2 separate regions of the Homo sapiens genome follow, and region 1 is linked to region 2. The links are contacts of gene promoters, found by promoter capture Hi-C in blood cells and fetal thymus (Javierre and others, 2016). All regions are on one chromosome and are shown on one strand. The core of a region is centred on a gene start or on the middle of the fragment in contact, and the rest is flanking DNA. Distances in the headings are between cores, read along the strand shown. Region 1 has its middle 46 kb from the start of A4GALT. Region 2 holds the start of TTLL1-AS1 (TTLL1 antisense RNA 1).

Region 1 (5,492 bases), core at 2,951-5,450, 270 kb before region 2:
GGGTTTCGCCATGTTGTCCAGTCTGGTCTCATACTCCCAACCTCGGGTGATCTGCCCGTCTCGGCCTCCCAAAGTGCTGGGATTACAGGCGTGAGCCTCCGTGCCTGGCCCTATTTACTCTTAATATTCACTTTTATGCCTAATTTTATAATCATAGTTTCCTATTTTTCTCCACAAAGAGGCCCTGAGAATGCCACCCATCGTCTCCAGCGGTGTCTCATCTGGAGGTGGCCCTGCAGGCTGGGGCTGGCTTCCCTGGGCAATGAAGAGCGTGCTAGGCCCTCAGGGTCACGTGGGCTCCCTTGCCACCTCATTGGCAGTCACTGGAAGAGTTTGCGTTGGTTCAGAGCCCAGGGCCTGATTCAATCCACGATGCAGTTGGGTACTGCCCATGAGCTGAAAAACCCCATCAACCCTCTGACCCGGGCCCGGCCAGCCTCACTGGTGTGGAACCCGTCCCCCACCCCCACACCTGGCTGCAGGACTCACTCCCTACACCCCAGAGACACAGGGCGGGTGGGGAGGTGGGAGTGGGCCCCGAGTCACTCTGCCTGCTCCCAGCTCCGCCACCTTCCAGTGCTTGACCTTAGGCACTTCCCTGTACCTCGGTTTCCCCATTTATGAAAGCAGGGAATAATGTACCTGTCCCACAGAGCAGCTGTGAGGATGGACTGGACCAGTGATGGCTGGTGCTCTGTAAAGCTTGGTAAATACATAGGGGTGCCTGGGAGCTGCTCTTATTACCTACTCTGCAAAGAGATGGGACTTTTTGGAAGGTTTTGTGGACAGATGTGGGGAGGACCGTGTTCCACCCACCGACCCACCGCCCCATGGGCCAGCTTCTCCATCGGCACCTGCCTCTCTCTCCAGAGCTCTCCTCTTGAATTTCTTTCTCTGTTCAGTCTCCTCTTCCCCTTGCACCTTCTCACTCATCTTCCTTCTGAAGGCAGAGAACGGCTCTGGCACCTCCCACTCTCTGATGCTCCCACCCAAGCCCCCAGGGGCCTCTGATCACTCATGGGATGACCCCAAACTCCTCTCCTGCACTTCATCCCCGACGCCCATATAACCTGGCCAGGCTGACTCAGCCCCCAGAACAAGTTTCCCCACAAAAGCTGGGGACCTGGGCTCCTTTTGACCCCAGATAAGCCCTATCTTCTCCAGCTTCAGTTTCGGTTCATGAAACATGGAGGGAGGCACTCAGATCCCCCCCAGTCCACAGGAAAGGGCAGGAAGAGGTTCTGACACGGAGGTGGGAGGTGAACCCCAGGGACGCGGATCAGAGCTGACAGGCTGGGGCTTTCCAGGGTGGCCGCATCACACCCCAAACACAACCACCCAAACAGTGCGTCATCCAGGTCCCCTGAAGAGCTCAGTTCTGGTTGGAGACTCCAAGAAACAGCGGCCCCTGGCCCGAGCCCATGCCCCAGCCCCCGGCCTGGGAGAAGAGCAGGGAGTCGCACAGAGGCCGCATGGCTTCTGGATTGGTCAAGGCAGAGCCTGGGTGGGCAAGGAGGTCATCCTTGTGTGGCCGCGAGCTGGCCCCTTCATAGCTGGGAGCCCCGTTATCCACGTGCCTCAGGTCCTGAGTCTCTGCTCCAATGTTGCCTCATCAGAGAGGCCCTTCTCTGACCCTTTATAAAGTGCCATCTCTCTCATGCCTTCATCTTTCTTCCTGTCGTCCGCAGGAAGACAAGCAATGATCCAGAGTCTTGAAGCAGTGTGCCGCGGAAGGTGGCGTATCCGTGGGACCGACTGCTGGGCATGGGGCGTCCCAGCCAGCAGAGAGGCAGCACCGGCCCCACTGCCGTCCCTCCTCTCCACCCCTGAGTTCCCACTGTACCAGGAGTGGGCTTGCTGTTCTCTGGCTCCTGCATCCCTGTGGTGGAATTTCCTCCCTTCCCCCTGGAGGGAGGGGCTCCCTCACCCTACCCACACCCCAGGTGGAGCTCAGGGATCCTTCCCTGTGTCCCCTACAAGGCCAGCCCCTCCCAGTGGGACTCGTGTGGGGTCTCCTCCCACCCCATTCTGTCAACCATGTGTGTGACTTGAGGATGCAAGTGGTTTATGCATCTGTTATAAAAACAGTCCCCGCCCCTCTCTGCCCATTGTGCGTCCACAAGGCTCCCATGCCCTTGTGTTTATTTTCCCAGCATTTATGTTTCAGGTCAGTCTTTTCATGTCTGCCTTTTTATGCTTAAATAATGTGCTTAGGAGGCCAGACATGGTGACTCACACCTGTCATCCCAGCACTTTGGGAGACCGAGGTGCGTGGATCACTTGAGGTCAGGAGTTCGAGACCAGCCTGGCCAACATGGTGAAACCCCGTCTCTACTAAAAATACAAAAATTAGCCAGACACAGGGGGGAATGCTTGTAATCCCAGCTACTTGGGAGGCTGAGGTGGGAGTATCACTTGAGCCAGGGAGGCAGAGGTTGCAGTGAGCTGAGATGGCGCCACTGCACTCCAGCCTGGGCAACAGAGTGAGACTCCGTCTCAAAAAATAAATAAAAAATGCCAGGCGTGGTGGTCAGGAGTTCGAGACCAGCCTGGCCAACGTGGTGAAACCCCCTCTCTACCAAAAATACAAAAATTAGCTGGGCATGGTGGCACACACCTGTAATCCCAGCAACTTGGGAGGCTGAGGCATGAGAATAGCTTGAACCCAGGATGCAGAGTTTGCAGTGGGCTGAGATCGAGCCACTGCACTCCAGCCTGGGTGACAGAGCAAGACTCTATCTCAAAAATAAATAAATAAATAAAAATAAATAAAAAATAATGTACTTAGGCCGGGCATGGGGGCTCATGTCTATCATCCCAGTACTTTAGGGGGCTGAGGCGGGAGGATCTGTTGAGCCCAGGAGTTGGAGACCACTGTGGGCAACACAGCAAGACCCCATCTCTACCCAAAATAATTATACTGTGCTTAGCTGGACACTTCTCAGGTTCTCAGTGTTGCACAGGGTCTCCTGATTCTCCACCCTGGAAGTGAAGGATTTAATTCCCTCTCACACATAGAACCCCCCAACTGTCCCCACCCCCAACATAATTTTGGTGAGACAGACATTCAGTGTCTACGTTACTATGCGGGTGCAGCTCACGCTGAGCCGTGCAGCAGGCTGGGGTTCCTCATTTTCCCTGGAGTGCATCTGGTTCCCAGGCCACTTGTGCCCCAGTTTCTTCCTGGGGCTGTGACTTCACCTCTGCACTCTCCTTCCGCTATGTAAGCCGCCTCTCCACGTGTTCAGACACATTGGAACAGTTTCCTCCCAGAGCCTCCTGACCATCCCCTGTGGCCTGGTGCCTGGCCTCTGTCATCTGGCACCCACTCTCTCCTATCAGTTGGCTCCTGCTGCCTGGACCCCATCTTCCTCTATGTGGCTGCCCCTCGTTTTGCTCATGCCCACCCTCCAAGACTTCTTTTTTTTTTAAATATATATAATGGGGACGGGGTGCGGTAGCCCATGCCTGCAATTCCAGCACTTTGGGAGGCCGAGGCGGGCGGATCACCTGAGGTCAGGAGTTCGAGACCAGCCTGGCCAACATGGAGAAACCCCGTCTCTACTAAAAATACAAAAATTAGCCGGTTGTGGTGGTAGACGCCTGTAATTCCAGCTACTCAGGAGGCTGAGACAGGAGAATCGCTTGAACCCAGGAGGCAGAGGTTGCGGTGAGCCGAGATCGTGCCATTGCACTCCAGCCTGGGAGACAGAGAGAGACTCTGTCTCAAAAAAAAAAAATATATATATATATATATATATATATATATATATTTTTTTTTTTTTTTTTTTTTTTTAATTATTTTTTTTTTGCCCACGGCACAGTTCCAAGAGATCTCGGGAACATGTTTCCCTCCATGGCCTTCTTTTTAATTAATTAATTTATTTATTTATTTTGAGACAGAGTCTTGCTGTCACCCAGGCTAGAGTGCAGTGGTGAGATCTCGGCTCACTGCAACCTCCACCTCCCAGGTTCAAGCAATTCTCCTGCCTCAGCCTCCTGAATAGCTGGGACTACAGGGGTGCACCACCACGCCTAGCTAATTTTTTCACATTTTTAGTGGAGACAGGGTTTCACCATGTTGGCCAGGCTGGTCTTGAACTCCTGACCTCAAGTGATCTGCCCACCTCAGCCTCCCAAAGTGCTGGGATCATAGGCATGAGCTACTGTGCCCAGCCATCTACTTCTATTTAAGAAAGGGGCAGCAAACAGTGGCTTAGACACCCTGTGCCACGTGCAGGATTCATCCATGTGGGACTCACATAAGAGGACCAGCTGGACGGTTTTCCTGGGCGAACTGCTGATGTCACTATCTTTGGGTCTTTTCTCTTGAGTTGCTTGGACTTTGGAAAAGGATGTTACAAGGCCGTACAGAGGGCAGCTGAGGGGGCCAACCAGGTCTGGTGGAAGGCGAAGTGGCCCCCAAAGATGTCCCAGTCCTGATCCCTGGTAGCTGGGAAGATGTTGTTACAAGACAAAAGGAAATTTGCAGGTGTAATTAAGGTTACGAACCTTAAAATAGGGAGGGAAATTATCCTAGACATGGCTGGGATAGTGGGTCTGGTCCAGTCCCATGAGCTGTAAGAGCAGAAAAGGACTTTCTCTGGCTGGAAGCAGAAGAGAGACCAGGCCGAATGGGAAGCCAGAGAGTTTCCAAGTGTGAGGACTGGACATGCCGCTGCCGGCTCCGAGACGGGGGCCCACGGGCAAGGACAGAGACAGGCCTCTACTTGCTAAGGCTGGGCCCTGGCTGACAGCCAGCCAGGGAACAGGGACTTCAGTCCTATAGCCACAGAAACCAGATCCCACCAACCACCTGCGCGGACTCAGAAGGCAACTCACTTGCAGAGCCTCCGGAAGGGACACCCACCCAGCAGGCACTGGGCCCCCTCCAGCCACCCTCAGGCATGCGGGGCTGCAGCCAGAGAGGGGCACAGGGTCGGGCTTGGGCCTGTCAGACCCTCCCCTCCACAGTCTGAGTGACCTGGCCAGTGGCAGGATGGAGGCCTGAGAGGTGGCGCCGTTCACGGAACTGGGAGGGCCATGGGACCGGCTGGGGCGCTGGCTGACGGTGACGGGCGTGTGTGTGAGAACCTGAATGGATGAGGGTGGGTGGGTGGGTGGTGGGGTGGAGGCAGCTCCCTCCCCGTTTACTGGGGTGTGACTTGAGCACCTCGCAAGCACAGGCAGTGCCTCAGCCGCTTACTCTGTGAGGGGCCGACCGTGCCCACCTGCAGGCCCACTGTGTGCCGGGCACCCTGAGCCCCGCGTTTCCAGTGGCTCCAACTCTCCCACAGGTGACCCGGTGGATGCTGCTCTCCTCTGTGTGAGGGAGGAAGCGAGGGGACTGTCATGGCCCACGAGCCTGTTCGCCTCCACAAGCGGCTCCCAACCCCAGGCTCCTTCCAGCAAACCCTTGGAAAGGTCATAGAGCCTGGATGCCCCAGGCCTTGAGGGGCAGAGGGTGGGGGGCAGCAGGGTGGACAGGCGCC
Region 2 (6,900 bases), core at 3,270-5,769:
TGCTCGTCTCTGCAGATCCCCTTCCACCCGGTGTGCAGGCTCCCTGTGCACAACTCCCCTCCTCCCGTCCCTAGGGCACCGCCTGAGTTCACATTGTGGCCTGCACTGCCAGATCTCCCTCTAGCCTCTCACCAGCTCCGTCATCCTTAGAGAGGCACATCTCTAAGAACACTGATGCCATCACTCAAAAACATTTGGCTGGAAGCCGGGCACGGTAGCTCATGCCTGTAATCCCAGCACTTTGGGAGATGGAGGCTGGCGGATCACTTGAGGTCTGGAGTTCAAGACCAGCCTGGCCAACATAGTGAAACCCCATCTCTACTAAAAATACAAAACTAGGCCAGGCACGGTGGCTGATGCCTGTAATCCCGGCACTTTGGGAGGCTGAGGCAGGCGGATCACAAGGTCAGGAGATCAAGACTATCCTGGCTAACACGTCAGGATGTAGACATGTTTAGTAGAGAAACCCCGTCTCTACTAAAAATACAAAAAATTAGCCGGGCGTGGTGGCGGGCGCCTGTAGTCCCAGCTACTCGGGAGGCTGAGGCAGGAGAATGGCATGAACCTGGGAGGCGGAGCTTGCAGTGAGCTGAGCTCACGCCACTGCACTCCAGCCTGGGTGTCAGAGTGAGACTCCGTCTCAAAACAAAACAAAACAAAACTAGCCGGGCATGGTGGCGCATGCCTGTAATCCCAGCTACTTCTTGGGAGGTTGAGGCATGAGAATGACTTGAACCCAGGAGGCAAAGGTTGCTGTGAGCCGAGATTGTGCCACTAGCCTGGGCAACAGAGTGAGACTCTGTCTAAAAAAAAAAAAAAAAAAAAAAAAAAAGGAAAGAAAGGGGGGAGGGGAGGGGGGAGGGGAGGGGTGGGAAGGGGAGGGGAGATTAGGTGAGTTAAACTGGAATTGTGGGGGAATGTTGGCCAAGTGGCAGGCAGGGTGGGCCTGGGCCTGAGGGAACGCCATGGGCCCCTAGACTTGTTCCTGCTGACAGAGCGCCAGCGGCCGGGCAGGAGCATAAGCAAGGTGGGTTTGCATCTGTCACTGGAGGAGCGCTCCGAATGCTTCTCAGGACAAAAGCAGGAGGCCGCCATTGTTCACAGGATGTGAGATCTAATATGGTTCAGGCTGGGGCAAATCAGTGAAGATCAAAATCCCTCGTCTTCCACAATGAGAGACTGGAATCAAAAGTGGATGTGCTCCCACCTGCTCACAAAGGGTCCTCACGTGCCCCAGGGCCCTCCACTGGGGCACAGTTCACATTAGGGGACACACAAACAGCCTGAGGGTGCCCAGTCGCTGAGCAGCCCCAGTCGCTGTGCCGTTACCAGCAGGCAGGGCCCTGCAGGAGACCTTGGCCTCCCCAGACCACAGGGGCTGCAGGGCTGCTGCGGGGAGAGGGCCAGGCGGCCGCAGCACAGCTGGGAATGGCTCCAGAGGGGAGGGTGGAGAGTGCGCTGGCCCCTGGGGGCACTCAGAGAGGAGCTGCGTGTGTTTGGCACTGGTGGACATGGTGTGTGGCAGTGTGAGCCAACAGGCCAATGGGTGGCAAGCATAGGAGGCTTTATGGAGCACCCTGAAGAACCACTGTGTGGAGGGGAAATGGCCCCCTGTGAGGAAAGTCCTAGCAGCTGGTGGAGCGCAACCAGATGCGGGTCCAGACTGATGGGGTCTCCATGGCAGCCCAGGTGGGAGGCGGAGGAGGAGAAGGGAGACAGTGAGAAGGTTGTCACCAGGCCCTCACTAATACCCGGGGAGCAGCCCGTGTGCAAAGGAGGTGAAGGATGGTGGTTTTCTTTTGTTTGAGATGGAGTCTTGCTCAGTTGTCCAGGCTGGAGTGCAATGGTGCGATCTCGGCTCACTGCAACCTCCGCCTCCTGGGTTCAAGTGATTCTTCCGCCTCAGCCTCCCAAGTAGGTGGGATTACAGGCATGAACCACCAAGCCCAGCTAATGTTTGTATTTTTAGTAGAGACGGGGTTTCACCTTGTTGGCCAGGCTGGTCTCAAACTCCTGACCTCAGGTGATCCACCCACCTCAGCCTCCCAAAGTGCTGGGACTACAGGCGTGAGCTACTGTGCCCAGTCGAGGATGGGTTTATATTGGGAAAACCAAGCCTATCAAACTTGGTGAAAACGACCACAGGATGCAACCCTCTGGCCTGGGACCCACCCCATCAAGTGTGTGGGGGCTGACAAGAAAACAGCAACGGCTCCCGGACAGCTCCCAGCAGGGCTCACTGCTTAGCCCCAGCCTAGCGCTGAATGGGGCTGTTCCTGGCCCGACAGCCTCCCGAGGCCTGCTGCCAACACCGCACCCTTCCCACCCGTGTCCTGGAAGTGCTCAGAGGAAACATCTGCCCAGAACATGACATCACTAAATCATTAATGAGACAGTCACTATATGACATAAATCCACTTAGCAGAGCCTCACTCTCACCTAGCAACTGGGTCACCAGCAAACTAACCACTTGGTGTGACTCTTCCATTAGGACTGCGTGGCCCCGGAGCCTCAGAGGCCAACGTTCCCAACCAGGGACTCCACCCTTCTCCCAGAGGGAGGCAAAAACAACACAATGTAACTGAGAACCGGGTTGTAAAAACCGGTGGAAGAGCTGGGAACAGTTAACGGGGTGTCTTTCACTTCTGCGTGTAGGAGCCGAGGTGGAGCCGCCAGCTGTGCAGAGGACACCCCCTCCTGGGAGGTAAGAGGGCTCGCCAGAGCCAGCAAGGCGTGCGGGCAGGGTCCCTGTGCGGTGGTACTGGTTGTTTCTGAGGCAAACAGAACTCCCCCCCTTTTTTTTTTTGAGACGGAGTTTCGCTCTTATTGCCCAGGCTTGAGTGTAATGGCGCCATCTCGGCTCTCCGCAACCTCCGCCTCCTGGGTTCAAGCGATTCTCCTGCCTCAGCCTCCAGGCTAATTTTTGTATTTTTAGTAGAGATGAGGTTTCACCATGTTGGCCAAGCTGGTCTCGAACTCCTGACCTCAGATGATCCACCCTCCTCGGCCTCCCAAAGTGCTGGGATTACAGGCATGAGCCACTGCGCCCGGCCACAGAACTCCCCATTTTATACAGTGGGAAACAAAGGTGCAACGACCCCAGGGACAGGCTTGGGAAACAGCTAATAAACAGCAGAGCCAGGCCACAAGGCCAAGTCTGACTCGGGGATCTCCATCCCACACCCGCCATCAACAGCAAACACATTAAAACTAAACCCCACGGCTGGGCGCAGTGGCTCACACCTGTATTCCCAGCACTCTGGAAGGCTGAGGCAGGCGGATCACCTAAGGCTGGGAGTTTGAGACCAGCCTAGCCAACATGGTGAAGCCCCATCTCTACTAAAAATACAAAAATTAGCCGGGCATGGTGGTGTACACCTGTAATCCCAGCTACTTGGGAAGCTGAGGCACGAGAATCACTTCAACCCGGGAGGCAGAGATTGCAGTGAGCTGAGGTTGCGCCACTGCACTCCAGCCTGCTGGGCGACAGAGCGAGACTCTGTCTCAAAAACAAAACAAAACAAAACAAAACTTAAACACCAGGGAACACACACAACACACATACCAATAAGATCACGAAGAAGGAATGGCTGAAAAGCCCACCAATTGTAGTTTATTTGGAGTCCAGCCAAGTACCATTTGTGTTGAAAAGACCTATTTTTCCCTAATTGGCAGTGAAACATCATTAAATATATGTACTCATATACACACACACAATATGGCATGTACACTTGACACACGTCCATGCATGGGCACTGAGAGAGCCTGGGCAAGTCAGTTAAGACCCTTATCTGAAGGACATACCCTTGGTGCCATTTGGGAGAACAAACTCCTGTTACTAGCATTGCAACAAAAACAGGTGGCAAGCTTTAAAGATAAACTCAAGACAGCGAGTGAAACTTCAGCAAATACGTGTTAATACGACCATGAGTAAAAGGCCCTTCCTGGCCGGGCGCAGTGGCTCACGCCTGTAATTTCAGCACTTTGGGAGGCGGAGGCGGGAGGATCACCTGAGGTCAGGAGTTCGAGACCAGCCTGGCCAACATGGTGAAACCCCGTCTCCACTAAAAATACAAAAATTAGTTGGGCGTGGTGGCAGGCGCCTGTAAGCCCACCTCTTTGGGAGGCTGAGCCATGAGAATCGCCTGAACCCAGGAGGTGGAGGTTGCAGTGAGCCTAGATTGTGCCATTGCACTCCAGCCTGGGTGTCAAGAGTGAAACTCCACCTCAAAAAAAAAAAAAAAAAAAAAGACCCTTCCTAAGAACAGCACTGTAACTCATGAGTTATTACTCAAATGCATCTGTCCATCTACCCACCAACTCAGGTCCTCTCCATACACTCCTGTAAGTCACCGGGCTACCGGGAGACTGCATGGGAACAACCACGCTCGCGCAGCCTGTCCCGCAGCCATCGCTCCTCCCACAGCTCCTGGCTGCCCACGGCGCTTCCCTGTAGCAAACCCAGCTGCTGACGTCATAAAAGGCACACAGCCGGACCTGTCTGTGCTCATCTAGTTCCATTTACAACAGACTCATCCACAAAACCGAAGTGGTAGAAACAGGTCTTTTTGAAGCCAGGCGTGGTGGCTCATGCCTGTAATCCCAACACTTTGGGAAGCTTAGGCAGGAGTATCGCTTGAGCCCAGGAGTTCGAGAACAGCCTGGCCAACATGGTGAAACTCTGTCTCTACAAAAAAAACTTTAAAAAGTAGCTGGGGGTGGTGGTGTGTGCCTGTGTGGTCCCAGTTACTCGGGAGGCTGAGGTGAGCGGATCACTTGAGCCCAGGAAGTTGAGCCACAATGGCACCACGGCACTCCAGCCTGGGTGACAGGGCGAGATCCTGTCTGAAAAGAAAAAAAAAAAGAAAAGAGAAGAAAAGAAAAGAAAACAGGTCTTCCTGGGAGCACCTAGACAAAGGCCTTTGTAAAGATAAATTACCGAGGAATATTTCTAGTTGCCTGTTTTCTTCAAAATCACAGTCAAGTAAGCTGGGCGTGGTGGCTCACCTCTGTAATCCCAGCATTTTGGGAGGCCGAGGTGGGCAGATCACCTGAGGTCAGGAGTTTGAGACCAGCCTGCCCAACATGGTCAAAACCCCATCTCTACTAAAAATACAAAAATTAGCCAGGTGTGGTGGCACACGCCTGTAATCCCAGCTACTTGGGAGCCTGAGGTGGGAGAAATACTACCCAGGAGGCAGAGGTTGCAGTGAGCCAAGATTGTGCCAGTGCACTCCAGCCTGGGCGACAGAGCAAAACTCTGTCTCGGGAAAAAAAAAAAAAATCGCAGTCAAGTAAAAAGAAACGCAACTAAAAGAGCCGTCAGTTAAATACATTCCTCTCTCGTGGCAGGACGAGTCTATAAGATTTGTTTTGTTTTTAATTTAGTGTAAAGTTTTTTTAATGTTTAAACCTTGTGACACATCAAATTACATGCTTGAAGCTGTTACTTTCTGTCAAAAAAGTGAGTTTTTAATATGAAAATTCTGCTTAGGTTAAAAATTAAAAAAAAAAGAGCGAGTTTTATACATCCGCATGAATTGTTTCCTTTAGCACTAGTCAAACAGACTCCATAACCTTCCAAAGAAGTGCCTTCGTTTATTTACAGGGCTTAGGAAAGGAAAAAAGCTCTACAAAAGGGAAATTTCAAAATAGGGCTTCAGCAGGGGCCCAGGTGGAGTGAGTAGTTTTGATAAGGTCCAGGTGGGACTCACTTCCAGGTGGTGAGGACCGCTCTCCCCGAGTCTCTCGATCGGCCTGCTCTGGGCCCCAGAGACTGACCCTGACGGCTTCTCAGCTCCCGGTCAGCCCCGTCACCCTGGGCCAATTCTTCATCATACCTGGAGACAGAAACAGCCAGGATCACGGCAGGCTCTCTTTCAAAGGCAACAGGCAGGGCCACCAGGCTGCTGTGTGGCAAATATGACATCACCCAGAGAAGCGGCCTGAGGGGGCCCCACCCTCGCGACTCCTGCTGGCTCCCGCCCACCTCCCACCTGGCTCCAGCCCACCTGCCTGCCAGGTGGCTCTCGCAGCCCAGCAAATGCTCCCCAAGGCCAGCCTGCCTATGTGTACAACCTTGTTGTTATTGTGGACAGTGGTCTCCCCTCGGAAGCTGACATTTTATACAGGTCACCAGGTCAAATATGGCAATGACTCCAAAGGCAACATGCATGAGGTGACACAGAACCAGCCCAGGGTAAGTGAGGTGAGACTGCCTGGCTGGAAACGCTTCACACAAGGCACCTGCAGGCTGGGGGGACTAACTCCATTCCAGATGGGAGTGGTACATGAGCACTGGTCAGTGGAGGCCAGGGCAGAGAGGCCCCACGGTGCACACTCAGCTAGAGACTCTGCCAGTGTGACCCACGCCACCCCTCCCCATTTTCTTTTTTTTTGAGATGGAGTTTCACTCTATCACCAAGGCTGGTATACAGTGGCGCAATCTTGGCTCACTACAACCTCCACCTCCCTGGTTCAAGCGATTCTCCTGCCTCAGCCTTTCAGGTAGCTGGGATCATAGGTGCCCACCACCACACCCAGCAAATTTTTGTATTTTTAGTAGAGACAGGGTTTCCCCATGTTGGCCAGGCTGGTCTCGAACTCCTGACCTCAGGTGATCTGCCCATTCGGCCTCCCAAAGTGCTGGGATGACAGGCGTGGGCCACCGTGCCTGGCCCCCATTTTCTTTAACTGCCTGTTTCCCAATTAACGTTCATGCATCCTAAGGCCGCGTGTGCTAAGGAGGCAGCAGTGTAGGAAACAGCCTGAATTTTCGTGTCTGGAAGAGCTGGATGCCAGCTGCAGCTCCCCAGACGGGGTGGTCACAGCATCTGGGCAAGTCCTGGGTCCTTCCCACAGTGGCGGGGCCCTTCTCTCACGGGGTCCTGGAGCATGGTC

The links. Contacts are between HindIII fragments. The CHiCAGO score rates a contact against its expected background, and 5 or more counts as called.
Region 1: a contact is called between a fragment that was not itself captured here and the fragment with the promoter of TTLL1-AS1 in region 2, in 1 of 17 cell types (neutrophils). The highest score is 5.6, in neutrophils.

What each region holds. Positions count from the first base shown.
Region 1 is chr22:42,763,834-42,769,325 of GRCh38, forward strand. No RefSeq gene overlaps it. Among named protein-coding and RNA genes, the nearest start is that of A4GALT, 46 kb to the left of the region's middle. The HindIII fragment of the contact is 7,000 bases long and covers 701-5,492 here.
Region 2 is chr22:43,034,066-43,040,965 of GRCh38, forward strand. TTLL1-AS1 (TTLL1 antisense RNA 1) reads left to right here and starts at 4,520. Exons shown (of 3, transcript NR_125362.1): 1 at 4,520-6,199. TTLL1 (TTL family tubulin polyglutamylase complex subunit L1) reads right to left here. Exons shown (of 11, transcript NM_012263.5): 11 at 5,451-5,840. The coding sequence ends at 5,711. RefSeq lists an enhancer at 1-483. The HindIII fragment of the contact is 751 bases long and covers 3,866-4,616 here.